2 separate regions of the Homo sapiens genome follow, and region 2 is linked to region 1. Evidence: promoter capture Hi-C in human tissues and cell types (Jung and others, 2019). All regions are on one chromosome and are shown on one strand. Each heading gives the region's core, a stretch centred on a gene start or on the middle of the fragment in contact. The rest is flanking DNA. Distances are from core to core; before and after follow the strand shown.

Evidence for each region. The method cuts DNA at HindIII sites, captures the fragments that hold promoters and counts their contacts. A contact is called where the count stands out against the background at its distance.
Region 2: a fragment that was not itself captured here is called in contact with the fragment with the promoter of MYOZ1 in region 1 in 1 of the 25 tissues and cell types used here (IMR-90 fibroblasts).

What each region holds. Positions count from the first base shown.
Region 1 is chr10:73,637,257-73,643,882 of GRCh38, reverse strand. MYOZ1 (myozenin 1) reads left to right here and starts at 2,409. Exons shown (of 6, transcript NM_021245.4): 1 at 2,409-2,472; 2 at 3,848-3,938; 3 at 5,961-6,139. The coding sequence starts at 3,866. The HindIII fragment of the contact is 11,584 bases long and covers 1-6,626 here.
Region 2 is chr10:73,591,693-73,598,318 of GRCh38, reverse strand. It overlaps a transcript of USP54 not described here. Among named protein-coding and RNA genes, the nearest start is that of USP54, 3.7 kb to the right of the region's middle. RefSeq lists an enhancer at 5,944-6,626. The HindIII fragment of the contact is 7,322 bases long and covers 269-6,626 here.

The DNA.
Region 1 (6,626 bases), core at 1,160-3,659:
TGATCCACCCACCTCGGCCTCCCAAAGTGCTGTGATTACAGGCATGAGCCACCACGCCCGGCCTATTTTATCTTCTAATTGCTTCCTTGGGTTGGGAGGGGATGGAGGAGGACAAAAGATGAGGGGTCTGGAGGCATAACTAGCCTGGGCAGAAGCCAACTGTGAGGGGATACCTTTTAGGGTCTCCACAGGATGGAAAAAGGACATGGTCAGGAAGAGTAAAGAGCTCAGAAGGGGACAAAGGAAGTTACAAAAGCCACTTCCTGGTGCGTGCCTGTAGTCCCAGCTACTCAGAGGCTGAGGTAGGAGGATCACTTGTGCCCAGGTGTTCAAGTCCAGCCTGGGCAACATAGTGAGACCCCCATCTCTAAAATAAAGAAAGAAATAATTTTTTAAAAAGCCAGCTAGGCACAGTGGCTCACGCCTATAATCCTAGCACTTTGGGAGGCTAAGACAGGAGGATTGCTTGAGCCCAGGTGTTTGAGACCAGCCTGGGAAACATAGTGAAACCCTGTCTCTACAAAACATATGAAAATTAGCTGGGCGTGGTGGCATGTACCAGCAGCCCTAGCTACCTGGGAGGCTGAGGTCGAAGGATTACCTGAGCCTGGGGAGGCTGAGGTTGCAGTGAGCCAAAATTGTGCCACTGCACTTCAGCACAGGCAACAGAGTGAGACCCTGTCTCAAATAAATAAATAAATAAATAAAGCCACTTCCTCAGGTAGCAGCAACAGGGTTGTGGTGGCTGCAGCAGAAGTGCTGCAGCAACTGGTTCCAGAATCTAAGCAGAAGGTGGAGGAAGATCATGCAGCTACTGAAGAAGGGCCTGGGGAAATGATAGGCTTTCCCCAAAGGGGCTTTCAAGCCTGTGGCCCTGCCCAGAGACTCCGCTGGAACAGTACAAATGGCACAGTCCAGATCCTATGTGGTATGTGCTCCCTTTGCAGGAAATCTCAAGTAGAAACCTCAGAGAGCCTGTAATCCCAGCACTTCGGGAGGCTGAGATGGATGGATCACGAGGTCAGGAGATCGAGACTATCCTGGCTAACACGGTGAAACCCCATCTCTACTAAAAATACAAAAAAAAATTTAGCCGGGCGTGTTGGTGGGCGCCTGTAGTCCCAGCTACTCGGGAGGCTGAGGCAGGAGAATGGCGTGAACCTGGGAGGTGGAGCTTGCAGTGAGCCGAGATTGCGCCACTGCACTCCAGCCTGGGCAACAGAGCGAGACTCCGTCTCAAAAAAAAAAAAAAAAAAGAAGAAGAAAAGAAACCTCAGAGAGCCTATATGTGCTTCTCAGGGAGACATCGATGTCTATCCCGCACAGCAGGTTGAACTGAGCATCTCAACAGCAAATGGAGGTTAAAAGGCAGATCCTGGCTGGGCGTGGTGGCTAGAGAATAACTCCTTAGAGACCAGATCCTGGCGGTGGCTCACGCCTGTAATTCCAACATTTTGCGAGGCCAATGTGGGTGGATCACCTGAGGTCAGGAGTTTGAGACCAGCCTGGCCAACGTGGTGAAACCCCGTCTCTACTAAAAATACAACAATTAGCCGGGCATGGTGGTGGACACCTGTAATCCCAGCTACTCAGTAGGCTGAGGCAGGAGAATTGCTTGAACCCAGGAGGTGGAGGTTGCAGTGAGCCGAGATCGCACCACTGCACTCCAGCCTGGGCAAAAAGAGCGAAACTCCATCTCAAAAAAAAAAAAAAAAAAATGCAGATCCAAGTGTTTGTCTTTTATTAAAACTGCCAGAGCTCAAGAGGAAAGAATAGGGAGTGAGGCAGACAGAATAATTGTCAAGTCTTCCCCACATCATTCCTTTGTAGGAGGTACTGGGTTTAGTTAATTTGGTCCCTTAACCTGCCAAGATCTAGCCCTTACCGAGAAAAGACCAACCTATCCAGGAACTTTAAAAGAGCAGTTCCACTGTGAAGACTTCCCTTTTTGTCCCCAAATATAGCACTTTAAGCCCTCCCTGCTCCAAATACACCCACAGGTCTCTCCACTCTGCCCTGGATTGGCTCTGTGTGGCCCTCAGGGCATGTTCCCCAGACTCTCTCTCTCTGACTGAATTCCTATCCAATACTTGCTGTCTACTTCCTGTCTCCCTCTCAGTCTTCAGTTTCTCCCTAAGTGCTTCTTTGGATCTCAGGCTCTAGGTGCAATGTGAAGGGGAGTCCCTGGGCAGACTGATCCCTGGCTCAGACAGTTCAGTGGGAGAATCCCAAAGGCCTTTTCCCTCCTTCCTGAGCCTCCGGGCAAGGAGGGAGGGATCTTGGTTCCAGGGTCTCAGTACCCCCTGTGCCATTTGAGCTGCTTGCGCTCATCATCTCTATTAATAACCAACTTCCCTCCCCCACTGCCAGTGCTGCCCCCACGCCTGCCCAGCTCGTGTTCTCCGGTCACAGCAGCTCAGTCCTCCAAAGCTGCTGGACCCCAGGGAGAGCTGACCACTGCCCGAGCAGCCGGTAAGTCTCCAGCTCTATCGTTAGAAAGGCTGGAGCCCACTGTGTTGACTTCTGTGTCTGTGTCTACAATTGTGATTCTTGATCCTGGGGGAGTCTCCCCTCTCCTCATCTATGCTCAGCTCCCAGCTGTCCAGTTGGAAGGAGAGGGGAAGGAGAGTTGGAAGGAGAGGGGCCCAGGAGGTTGGGGGGAATGGAGATGTCGGGGGAGGCACTGGAAGAATGGGAAGGGAGACCCCACTAAGTCAGTAGAGTTGCAGATGTATTTTTTGAGACAGGACTTAGAAGAGGACAGCATTTCACTGAGTGCCAACTTCTCTTAAGAAGGGATTGGAGTCCATCTTATCCCAGTTTGTCCCTTTCCATTGCCAGATCCTATTACTATGTTTCTGCCCCACCTCAATTCCCCACTGCTATGATATTGCTGAATTGACGTGTCGGGATTTGAATGCTCCCTACCCTTCCCAGTTCCACACCTGCCTCCACTCTGGGGTCTGTGGCGGGAGTGATTGCAGGAGCAGGGCCATGACTTCCCAGGCCATGTTCCAGCTGGCCTGATGAAGGAGCAACAACCTCTCCTTCCTATGGAGAGTGTTTTTGGCTGAATCTCCTCAACCCTGGCAGAATATTTCTCTGTCCTCCTGGGGACTGGGGGAAGACTGAGGAGAGACCAGAGCCTGGAATCACAGCCCCAGTCTGATATCCCAGTGCAAATAAAAACTTCAAATCATGCCAAGCCAATGAAACCTGGGTGCATTGCCCTGCTTGTGTTATTGTTTTTTAAACACTCCCCACACCTAGCTATGTTCCTAATTCCTGCACTGACTCTATGAAAAACAGCTCACAACAGGTTGGTAGACAACAGGGGCTGGTGTGCATCTATACTTCCTGTCCTGTATCCCAAGAAAAGAGAAGCCCTAAAGCGCAAGTTTTCACCTTTTGGGGAAATACATGCTTCTTTGAAAATCTGGGTCAGGTGAAGTGGCTCACCCCTGTAATCTCAGCACTTTGGGAGGCAGGAGGACTGCTTGAGCCCAGGAGTTTGAGACCAGCCTGGGCAACATGGCAAAACCACATTTCTACAAAAAATACAAAAATTAGCCAGGCACGGTGGTGCGCACCTATAGTCCCAGCTACTTGGGAGGCTGAAGTTGGAGGATCACCTGAGCCCAGGGAGGTTGAGGCTGCAGTGAGGCATGATTGTGCCATTGCACTCCAGCCTGGGCGACAGAGTGAGATCCTGTCTCTAAAAAAGAAAAAAAAATTTTTTTGTCCCCTCAAGCCCTTAAACCCAGGTTAAGAAGTGCTGCTCTCCTACAGACACTCACTCTTCCCAGTCCCTGTCCATCCACCAACTCCTCCTTCCCACCCTGTCCAGGCTGAATCCACCTCCACAATGCCGCTCTCAGGAACCCCGGCCCCTAATAAGAAGAGGAAATCCAGCAAGCTGATCATGGAACTCACTGGAGGTAGGACATGTTTGCATCTCCCTAGTGTGGGACTTCTTAAGAGCATCCCTAAACCAAGAGTCCCAGAAATATATATCTTAGGGTGAACAAACAAGAGAAATTAAGTGGTGGGAAGGCGGGTGATGGGGAGTGGGAGAGGGAAGATTAAGAAGGGTAAGGAGAAAGAGAGAAAAGATTCAACACCTTCTACCCTTTTCACTTCATAATCTGAGACAATACCCTGCCATGTTACCTGCACAGGTCCAGGACCACAGGACCCATGAGTCAGTGAGGTATATTTGAGGAAGAAAATATAATGGAGACTGGCACAGACTCAGGTCTCAATAAGTGGTTAATTTCCCTTACTTCTTTCCCCAGAGCTAGGGAGCTTGTGTAAGTACTTAAAATGGAAAACTGCACAGGCATGTTTCCTGGGGGTGGGCAGGGGTGCATGCATGTGAAGAGCTCTTCAATACCTAGAGACTCTTTGGAGCCAGAGCTCACTGAGGGAAAGAAAAGGGAAAGTAGTTAAGACAGAAGTCTGGGCCAGGTGCAGTGGCTCACGCCTGTAATCCCAGAACTTTGGGAGGCCAAGGCTGGTGGATCGCTTGAACTCAGGGGTTTGAGACTGGCCTAGGCACATGGTAAAACCTCGTCTCTACAAAAAGTACAAAAATTAGCCAGGTGTAGTGGCATGTGCCTAGAGTCCCAGCTACTCCAGAGGCTGAGGTGGGACGATCGCTTGAACCCGGGAGGTGGAGGCTGCCGTGAGCCATGATTGCGACGCTACCCTCCAGCCTGGGTGACAGAGTTCATCCTAAGATATATTTATTTTGTCTCAAAATAAATAATACAAATAGGGCTGGGGCTGTGTCTCATACCTGTAATCGCAGCACTTTGGGAGGCTGAGGTGAGAGGACCACTTGAGCCCAGGAGTTCAAGACCAGCCTGGACAACATAATGAGACCTCATTTCCATTAAAAAAAAAAAAAAAAAAAAAGTCCAGGCGTGGTGGCTCATGCCTGTAATCCCAGCACTTTGGGAGGCTGAGGTGGGCCAATCATCTGAGGTCAGAAGTTCAAGACCAGCCCGGCCAACATGGTGAAACCCTGTCTCTACAAAAATAGAAAAATTAACTGGGCATGGTGCCGGGTGCCTGTAATCCCGGCTACTTGGGAGACTGAGGGAGGAGAATCACTTGAACCCAGGAGATGGAGGTTGCAGTGAGCTGCAATCGCGCCATTGCACTTCAGCCTGGGAGACAGAGCAAGTCTCTGACTCAATAAATAAATAAATAAATAAATAAATAAATAAATAAATAAATAAAATGTAGGCTGGGCGCCACGGCTCACGCCTGTCATCCCAGCATTTTGGGAGGCCGTGGCTGGTAGGTCAGTTGAGCTCAGGAGTTTGCGACCAGCCTGGCCAACATGGTGAAACCCCATCCCTACCAAAAAATATAAAAATCAGCCAGGGATGGTGGTGCAGGCCTGCAATCCCAGCGACCTGGGAGGCTGAGGCAGGAGAATTGCTTGAACCTGGGAGGCGGAGGCTGCAGTGAGCTGAGATCGCGCCATTCCACTCCAGCCTGGATGATAGAGCAGGACTCTGTCTCAAAAAAATGAAAAAAAAGAATAAAAAATAAAAACAAATATATATATATATATATATATGGCATCTGTATTTGGACTCCACACAAGATTGGCCTCTGGGTTTTTCCTGATGCCATGGTTTCTCCAATGGCCTCCATCTATGATGTTCCTTTACTCCTTTTGCTCTGTACCCCATGCCCGTACCTCTTTTACCCCATTGGCCTCTCCACTCTAGTATTCCCATTATCTCCACAGTGCACCCCAGTTCCCATGCATTCTCTCCAAGTCCCAGGAAATCAAAATCCCTCACAAACTAGACAGCATTTGTTCCCCTAAATGACCTCTGCCAGGACACACATACACACTTAGTTGTGGATGAGGTCTGCATTCTGAGCCCAGAAAACCCTACTTTCCTCTTTCCCTTGATTCTTCTTCTTTGCCTCCCTGAAAGGTGGACAGGAGAGCTCAGGCTTGAACCTGGGCAAAAAGATCAGTGTCCCAAGGGATGTGATGTTGGAGGAACTGTCGCTGCTTACCAACCGGGGCTCCAAGATGTTCAAACTGCGGCAGATGAGGGTGGAGAAGTTTATTTATGAGAACCACCCTGATGTTTTCTCTGACAGCTCAATGGTGAGTCTGGAACTTTATCACTATCTCAAAGCCTGGTGCCTGTTCTGACAGCTTGTTAGTAGGCCCTGAACCTCCAAAATGCAGTCAACATCCCCTCCCTGAAAATTTATAAATTTGTTAAACCCCCAGATATATTGAGCCCGCAACAGCTCCAGGGTGAGTTACAGCCCACCTCTGAAACCCAGTTTTCATCATAGAGCCACTGAAGGGTTGGAGAATACCACACCCTTAGGGAGAAAATTCCTTCCCAGTAAAGGTAAGTGTTAAAGATAGATTGCCAGATAAAACACAGGATGCCCAGTGGGGCAGTCCAGTCTTGTATTTTGAAGTTGAGATACACAATGAATAATTTTTTAGTGAAGTATGCTCCATGCAATATTTGGGACATAAAGATAAAAATTTAAAAAAATTTTAGAAAGAAGATAAGGCAGCCAGGCATGGTGGCTCACACCTGTAATCCCAGCACTTTGGGAGGCCGAGGCAGGTG
Region 2 (6,626 bases), core at 2,680-5,179, 47 kb after region 1:
GGTGTGAGATAGGAGTCCAACTTTTTCTCTTGCATATGGGGGATATTCAATTATTCCAGCACTATTTATTAAAAGACTACAGTAGTTTCTCCTTATCCATGAAGGATATGTTGCAAGACCTCCAGTGGATGCCTGGAACCATGAATAGTACTGAACCTGACAGCTGTTAATTGGAACATAATTCTGTTCATTTCTTCCACCCACAAATTTAGTGCCTTTTCCAACCTTTTTTTTGAGATGGAGTCTTGCTCTGTTGCCCAGGCTGGAGTGCAGTGGCGTGATCTCGGCTCACTGCAACCTCTGCCTCCGGGGATTCAGGTGATTCTCCTGCCTCAGCCTCCCGAGTAGCTGGGATTACGGGTCCCCACCACCATGCCCAGCTAATTTTATATATTTAGTAGAGACAGGGTTTCACCAAGTTGGCCAGGCTGCTCTTGAACTCCTAACCTCAGGTGATCCACCCGCTTTGGCCTCCCAAAGTGTTGGGATTACAGGAGTGAGCCACCACACCTGGCCGCCTTTTCCATCTTAACTAAGCACTTATATAACCACTGAATGGGTTCATTCTGCCCATTGCCCCAATACAGCTGATTTATCAAGACAGGAGAATAGCAATGGAGAAAGAGTTTAATTCACATAGAGCTGGCCGCACAGGAGACCAGAGTTTAATTATTACTCAAATCAGTCTCCCAGAATATTCCAGGATTGGGGTTTTTAAGGCTACTTTGGTGGTTAGAGGGCCAGAGAGTGGGGAGTGTTGATTGCTTAGGTCAGCAATGAAATCACAGGGAGTCAAAGCTGTCCTTTTACACTGAGTCAGTTCCTGGGTAGGACCACAAGACCAGATGAGACAGTTTATTAATCTGGATGGTGCCAGGTGATCCATTGAGTTCAGGGTTTGAAAAATATCTTGAGCACCAATCTTAGGTTTTACATTAGTGATGTTATCCCTAGGAGCAGTTAGGGAGGTGTAGAACCTTGGGGCCTTTAGCTGCATGATTCCTAAAGCATAATTTCTAATCTTGTAGCAATTTGTTAGTCCTGCAAAGGCAGTCTAGTCCCCAGGCAAGAAGAGGGTTTGTTCTGGGAAAGGGCTGTGTTTTTGTCTTTGTTTCAAAGTTAAACTATAAGTTCCTCCCAAAGTTAGTTCGCTTTATGTCCAGGAATGAACAAGGACAGCTTGGAAGTTAGAAGCAACAGGGAGTCAAGTAAGTCAGATCTCTTTCACTGTAATAATTTTCTCAGTTATAATTTTTGCAAAGGTGGTTTCACTTACCATGAACTATGGCCATGACTTTTTGCAGTTTGAGGTGTGACAGTAAAACTAGCATGAATTTCCTTTCCTTCTTCACAATGTCATGCATGGATTTGTTCTTATGGTAGACCTTAGCAGCTTTAGTGTATGATTCTTTTTCTTTCCTTATTAAGTCGATAACTTTCACTTTTTCACTTAAAGGAAGCACCTTATGGCTTCTCTATGGCCTGTTAAATTGCCAGTATCACTACTCTTGCATTTGGGAATATTATTAAGTAAAATAAAGTTACTTGAACATAAACACTGAGAAACCCTTTATTCCTTTTTTTTTTTTTTTTTTTTTGAGACAGGATCTCACTCTGTCCAACTCAGACTGGAGTGCGATGGCCTGATCTCAGCTCACTGCAACCTCCACCTCCCAGGCTCAAGTGATTCTCCTGCCCCAGCCTCCTGAGTAGCTGGGATTACAGGCGCGTACCACTACTGCCTGGCTGATTTTTTTTTTGAGACAGAGTCTCACTCTGTCACCCAGGCTGGAGTGCAGTGGTGCGATCTCGGCTCACTGCAAGCTCCGCCTCTCGGGTTCACACCATTCTCCTGCCTCAGCCTCCCGAGTAGCTGGGACTACAGGCGCCCGCCACTACGCCTGGCTAATTTTTTTTGTATTTTTAGTAGAGACAGGGTTTCACTATGTTAGCCAGGATGGTCTTGATCTCCTGACCTTGTGATCTGCCCGCCTCGGCCTCCCAAACTGCTGGGATTACAGGTGTGAGCCACCGTGCCCAGCCTAATTTTTGTATTTTTAGTAGAGATGGGGTTTCACCATGTTGGTCAGGCTGGTCTTGAACTCCTGACCTCAAATGATCTGTCCACCTTGGCCTCCCAAAGTGATGGGATTATAGGCGTGAGCCACTGCACCCGGCCTGTTTTTTTTGTTTTGTTTTTTTTTTTTGAGATGGAGTCTTGGCTCTGTTGCCCAGGCTGGAGTGCGGTGGCACCATCTCAGCTCACTGCAACCTCCGCCTCCTGGGTTCAAGCGATTCTCCTGCCTCAACCTCCTGAGTAGCTGGGATTACAGGCACACGCCACCATGCCCAGCTAATTGTTGTATTTTTAGTCAAGACGGGTTTTTCACCATGTTGGCCAGGCTGGTCTCAAAATCCTAACCTCAAGAGATCCGCCTGCCTTGGCCTCTCAAAGTGTTGGGATTACAGGCGTGAGCCACCGCGCCCGGCTGATTACTTTCTGTAAGACTAGCATTTAGGTAATTCTTTGGTGTGCTTGAGAGGGATTTTCATACTCTTCTTGCTTTCTAGGAGCTTTAAGTCCAGTCCAAGACTTTTAAAAACCCTTGTTCTATAGACAGGGTGGTTAATGTTCATAATGACATAATGCTATTTGATATACTTTTTAGAATTATGCAAGATATAGTTAAATAAATGAATTTAAACAATAATGATGCTATAATTAGAAGCCCAAATGTGTGGCCCCTATCTCCCTCTCTTCTTTAGAGTCCATTTATATGAGAAATATAGAGATTTCTTGTATGATTTTGCTGCTCAGGTCTGTGATTAACAGCCAAAGTTTCTCCAAAATGTATTCTTTGGATCAGTTTTTTTCTCTTCCCTCTACCCTTTCTGCAATATTCCTCTTCTCAGTAATGCATACTTGAGTGAAACAACCAGCTCTTTAAGGTACACATGCTCTGCCAACATTGTGAATAAATCTCAGAATAAAAACTAGAGTCACCTCTGATTGCACAGGGATTGCACCTGTGACTAGCCACTGCACTCCAGCCTGGGCAACATAGTGAGACTCTGTCTTTAAAAGAAAACACCAGTGGGGCTTGGTGGCTCACGCCTGTAATCCCAGCACTTTGGGAGGCTGAGGTGGGTGGATCACCTGAGGTCAGGAGTTTGAGACCAGCCTCGCCAACATGGTGAAACTCCATCTCTACTCAAAATACAAAAATTAGCCAGGTGTGGTGGTGTGCACCTGTAATCCCAGCTACTCTGGAGGCTGAGGTAGGAGAATCACTTGAACCCGGGAGGCAGAGATTGCAGTGAGCTGAGATTATGGCACTATACTCCAGCCTGGGTGACAGAGTGAGACTCTGTCTTCAAACAAAACCAAGATTAAAAAAAAAAAGTTAAAAAAAAACCCACTAGACTCAAATTAGTTATGTAGTTTTCCCTGTTTTTCATCTACTTCATGGTATATTCTTCCTTACAACCTAGAGTCAAAGGCTAGAATATTTTCTCTTAGGTTCCTTATTAGCTAAGATCAAGTCCGTCTCTAATTTTTGTTTGCTAGAACTCCAGTTTAACAGCTCTGAATTAAGCTTCCCCTCTCCCCAGGATCAAATGATAAAGGCTTTCATTTGATATAAAGCAGTCTCTTCCCCACCCCTCCCCACCCCAATCCTCCAGTTTATTTAAAAGTCTCAGCCTAGGTAACATACTAAGACCCTGTCTCCAAAAATCTTTAAAAAATTAGCTGGGTCTGGTTGTACACACCTGTAGTCCCAGCTACTCGGGAGGCTGAGGGTAGAAGATTGCATGAACCCAGGAATTTGAGGGTTCAGTGAGCTGTGATCACACCACTGCATCCAGCCTGGGCAACAGAGGAAGAACCTGTCTCTTAAAAAGTTCCCAAATTTTGTCACTACATTCTAAAATCTAGAGTCTTTTATTGGCTGGGCACAGTGGCTCACACCTGTAATCCCAGCACTTTGAGAGGCTGAGTCAGGTGGATCACTTGAGGTCAGGAGTTCGAGACCAGTCTGGCCAACATGGTGAAGCCCCATCTCTACTAAAAATACAAAAACTAGCTGGGTGTAGTGGCACCTACCTGTAATCCCAGCTACTGAAGAGGCTGAAGCAGGAGAATCACTTGAACCTGGGAAGTGGAGGTTGCAGTGAACCGAGATCGTGTCACTGCACTCCAGCCTGGGTGACAGAGCAAGACTTGGACTCAAAAAAAAAAAGAGTCTTTTATTTTCCAATCTCGTGTTCCTACTGCGGAGCCACTCAGTTCCTGCCTTTACTGCCGACATCAGCATTATCATTAGCATCTCAGAAATAAAAGACAATGATGGTTTGACTTTGGGGTTACTCCAGAGGGAGTTATTTTGGTTTTTCTTAGAGAAATCCTCTGTTTCTCTTTTATGACTTTTAAGAGAAGCAAAATGTTCTTTCAATGCATTGAACATTCTGTTGTACCTTACTCTATTTGCTAGTAGAAACCAATAATGAAAAGCTACGGAATGTGACCAAATAGGACTTTTCAGCCTGTGCTTTTCCATTACCCTCCCCACTACCCTCCAAGGATTTTTCTTGATTGATTTACTCAAATCCTAAATATTGTTTCTCCTTGCTAATAATATTTATATTTTTTCAGAGACCTTTGTCTATTCTGGTCTAAGGTGGACCTATTGTGGTGTTACATATTCCCTGCAAAGTACTTGAAAAATATGACTTGTTAAGTTTTGTTGAAGCACAGTTTTACAAAGTACTGTTGTAACTAGTCATCCAACTTTAGAATACCTGAACATTTAAACTAAAACCCTATTTTAAAAAATAATAATCTGAAACACTATGTATCACTCTCCCTCTTGACGTAGTTAGCAATCATGTACCCAAAACCTTTTCTTTCTATTTTTATTTTTCCTTTTTTTTTTTTTTTTTTGAGACAGGGTCTTGCTCTGTGGCCCAGACTGGAGTGCAGCGACACAATCACTGCTCACTGGGGCCTTGACCTCCTGGGCTCAAGGGATCCTCCCACCTCAGCCTGGAGTAACTGGGACCAGAGAGGTGCGTGCCACCACACCAGGCTAATTAAAAACTTTCTTTCTTTCTTTTTTTTTTTTGTAGAGAAGGGGCCTCCCTGTGTTGCCCAGGCTGGTCTTGAACTCCTGGGCTCAAATGATCCTCCCGCAATGGCCTCCCAAAATGCTGGGATTACAGGCGTGAGCCCCTGCACCCGGCCTATAAAACCTTTTCTACAGGCAGTTTGACACTCACCTAACAAAAACTTGTAGTTACCCAATTTATTTTGAATGGCGAAGCCCAGTGGTTGATACAGGGTTCTCTTTCTATTTGGCACAGAACCTCTTGTGCAGTCTTGAAGAGGGAATAAGAAATGTCTGAAAATAACTTATGCAAGGCAGAATGTGAGTATCATAGCAGAGTTTTATGGGAGGTGTTTTCTGAGGGGCCTCTGGAGAGATTACAATCTATTAGAGTGAGATTTCCCTGTGGATCACTTCCCTTACCTGGATGAGACATGAAAAGTAATGTTGTCTAGTTGTAATCAGGGTTGAAGCTCTGTAACTCTGTCCCAGTACTCTAGTTTTATTTGATTAGTTTCACAATGAATATATACCTATATTTTAATGACTTGATTGAAGAGCTTGGTCTTGATGTTTGTATGTCTTTATTTGCAGTCAGCACTTATCAGTAGAAATTTTGTGTTTCACACTTTGAAATGGCATTACTACCTCCTCCTCCACCTAGCACCACTAGGAGACCTGAGTTAGAATGCTAATGGTTAACAAGAAAAGCAACAGTATCTTTTTTTTTTTTTTTTTTTTTGTGGCACTTTCCTTGTGGCCAAAGGACTACTTCAATTTAATATACTGTATTGTTAAAATGTAAGAGCTTAATTAGTTTTGGACATTGCCCATGTTTGTTAAATTTTACCAATAAATCTTAATTACATCTTTTTTTTAGTCAACTCGTATATTTTCTCTCAACCTATAGAAACACAACAGACCTTCATATTTGGCAAGGATTCTGCTGATGAGTTTTTTTCATCAGTATGCTTATAAAACAACTTCTTTCAATAAAACTGTTTTATAACCTCAGGTAATACATAGAAGGGTGTGTGTTGGTCCTCTGGGGCCTTTGTGCCCTGCCTGCAAATGCAAGTTCTCGGTTGACTGATCACATGTTTGGGGGTGGGACTCTGCCTGCTGTTTGTTCTTGGTGATGTAACTAGGTCTCTTCCCCGAGAGAGGGGTGGAGATCTTTCCCTGTTGTGGACTTTGGGGTTGAGAACCCTTAGATCCCAAGCATTTTAAAATTGACTCAGTAGATTCCAATGGCTCAGTTTAAATAATAATTTTCTTTAATAGTGTGGCTCGTTTAAGACAGTTGGAGGAGTTTTGCCTATTAAAATGATTTGATTTAATTTAAGCCCAGTCTTGGAATTCTGAATTAGGGATTCCAACAATAACATTGTTTTGATTATTCTGTAAACAACTACAAAAATGTTGTCTTCTCGTGCTCCTTTTGACTGCAGTGCAAAGGAATTTTTTTGTGGGGGACTGGCCCTTCTTTGGAAGCAGCAGCCACCCTGCAAACCTTATTGT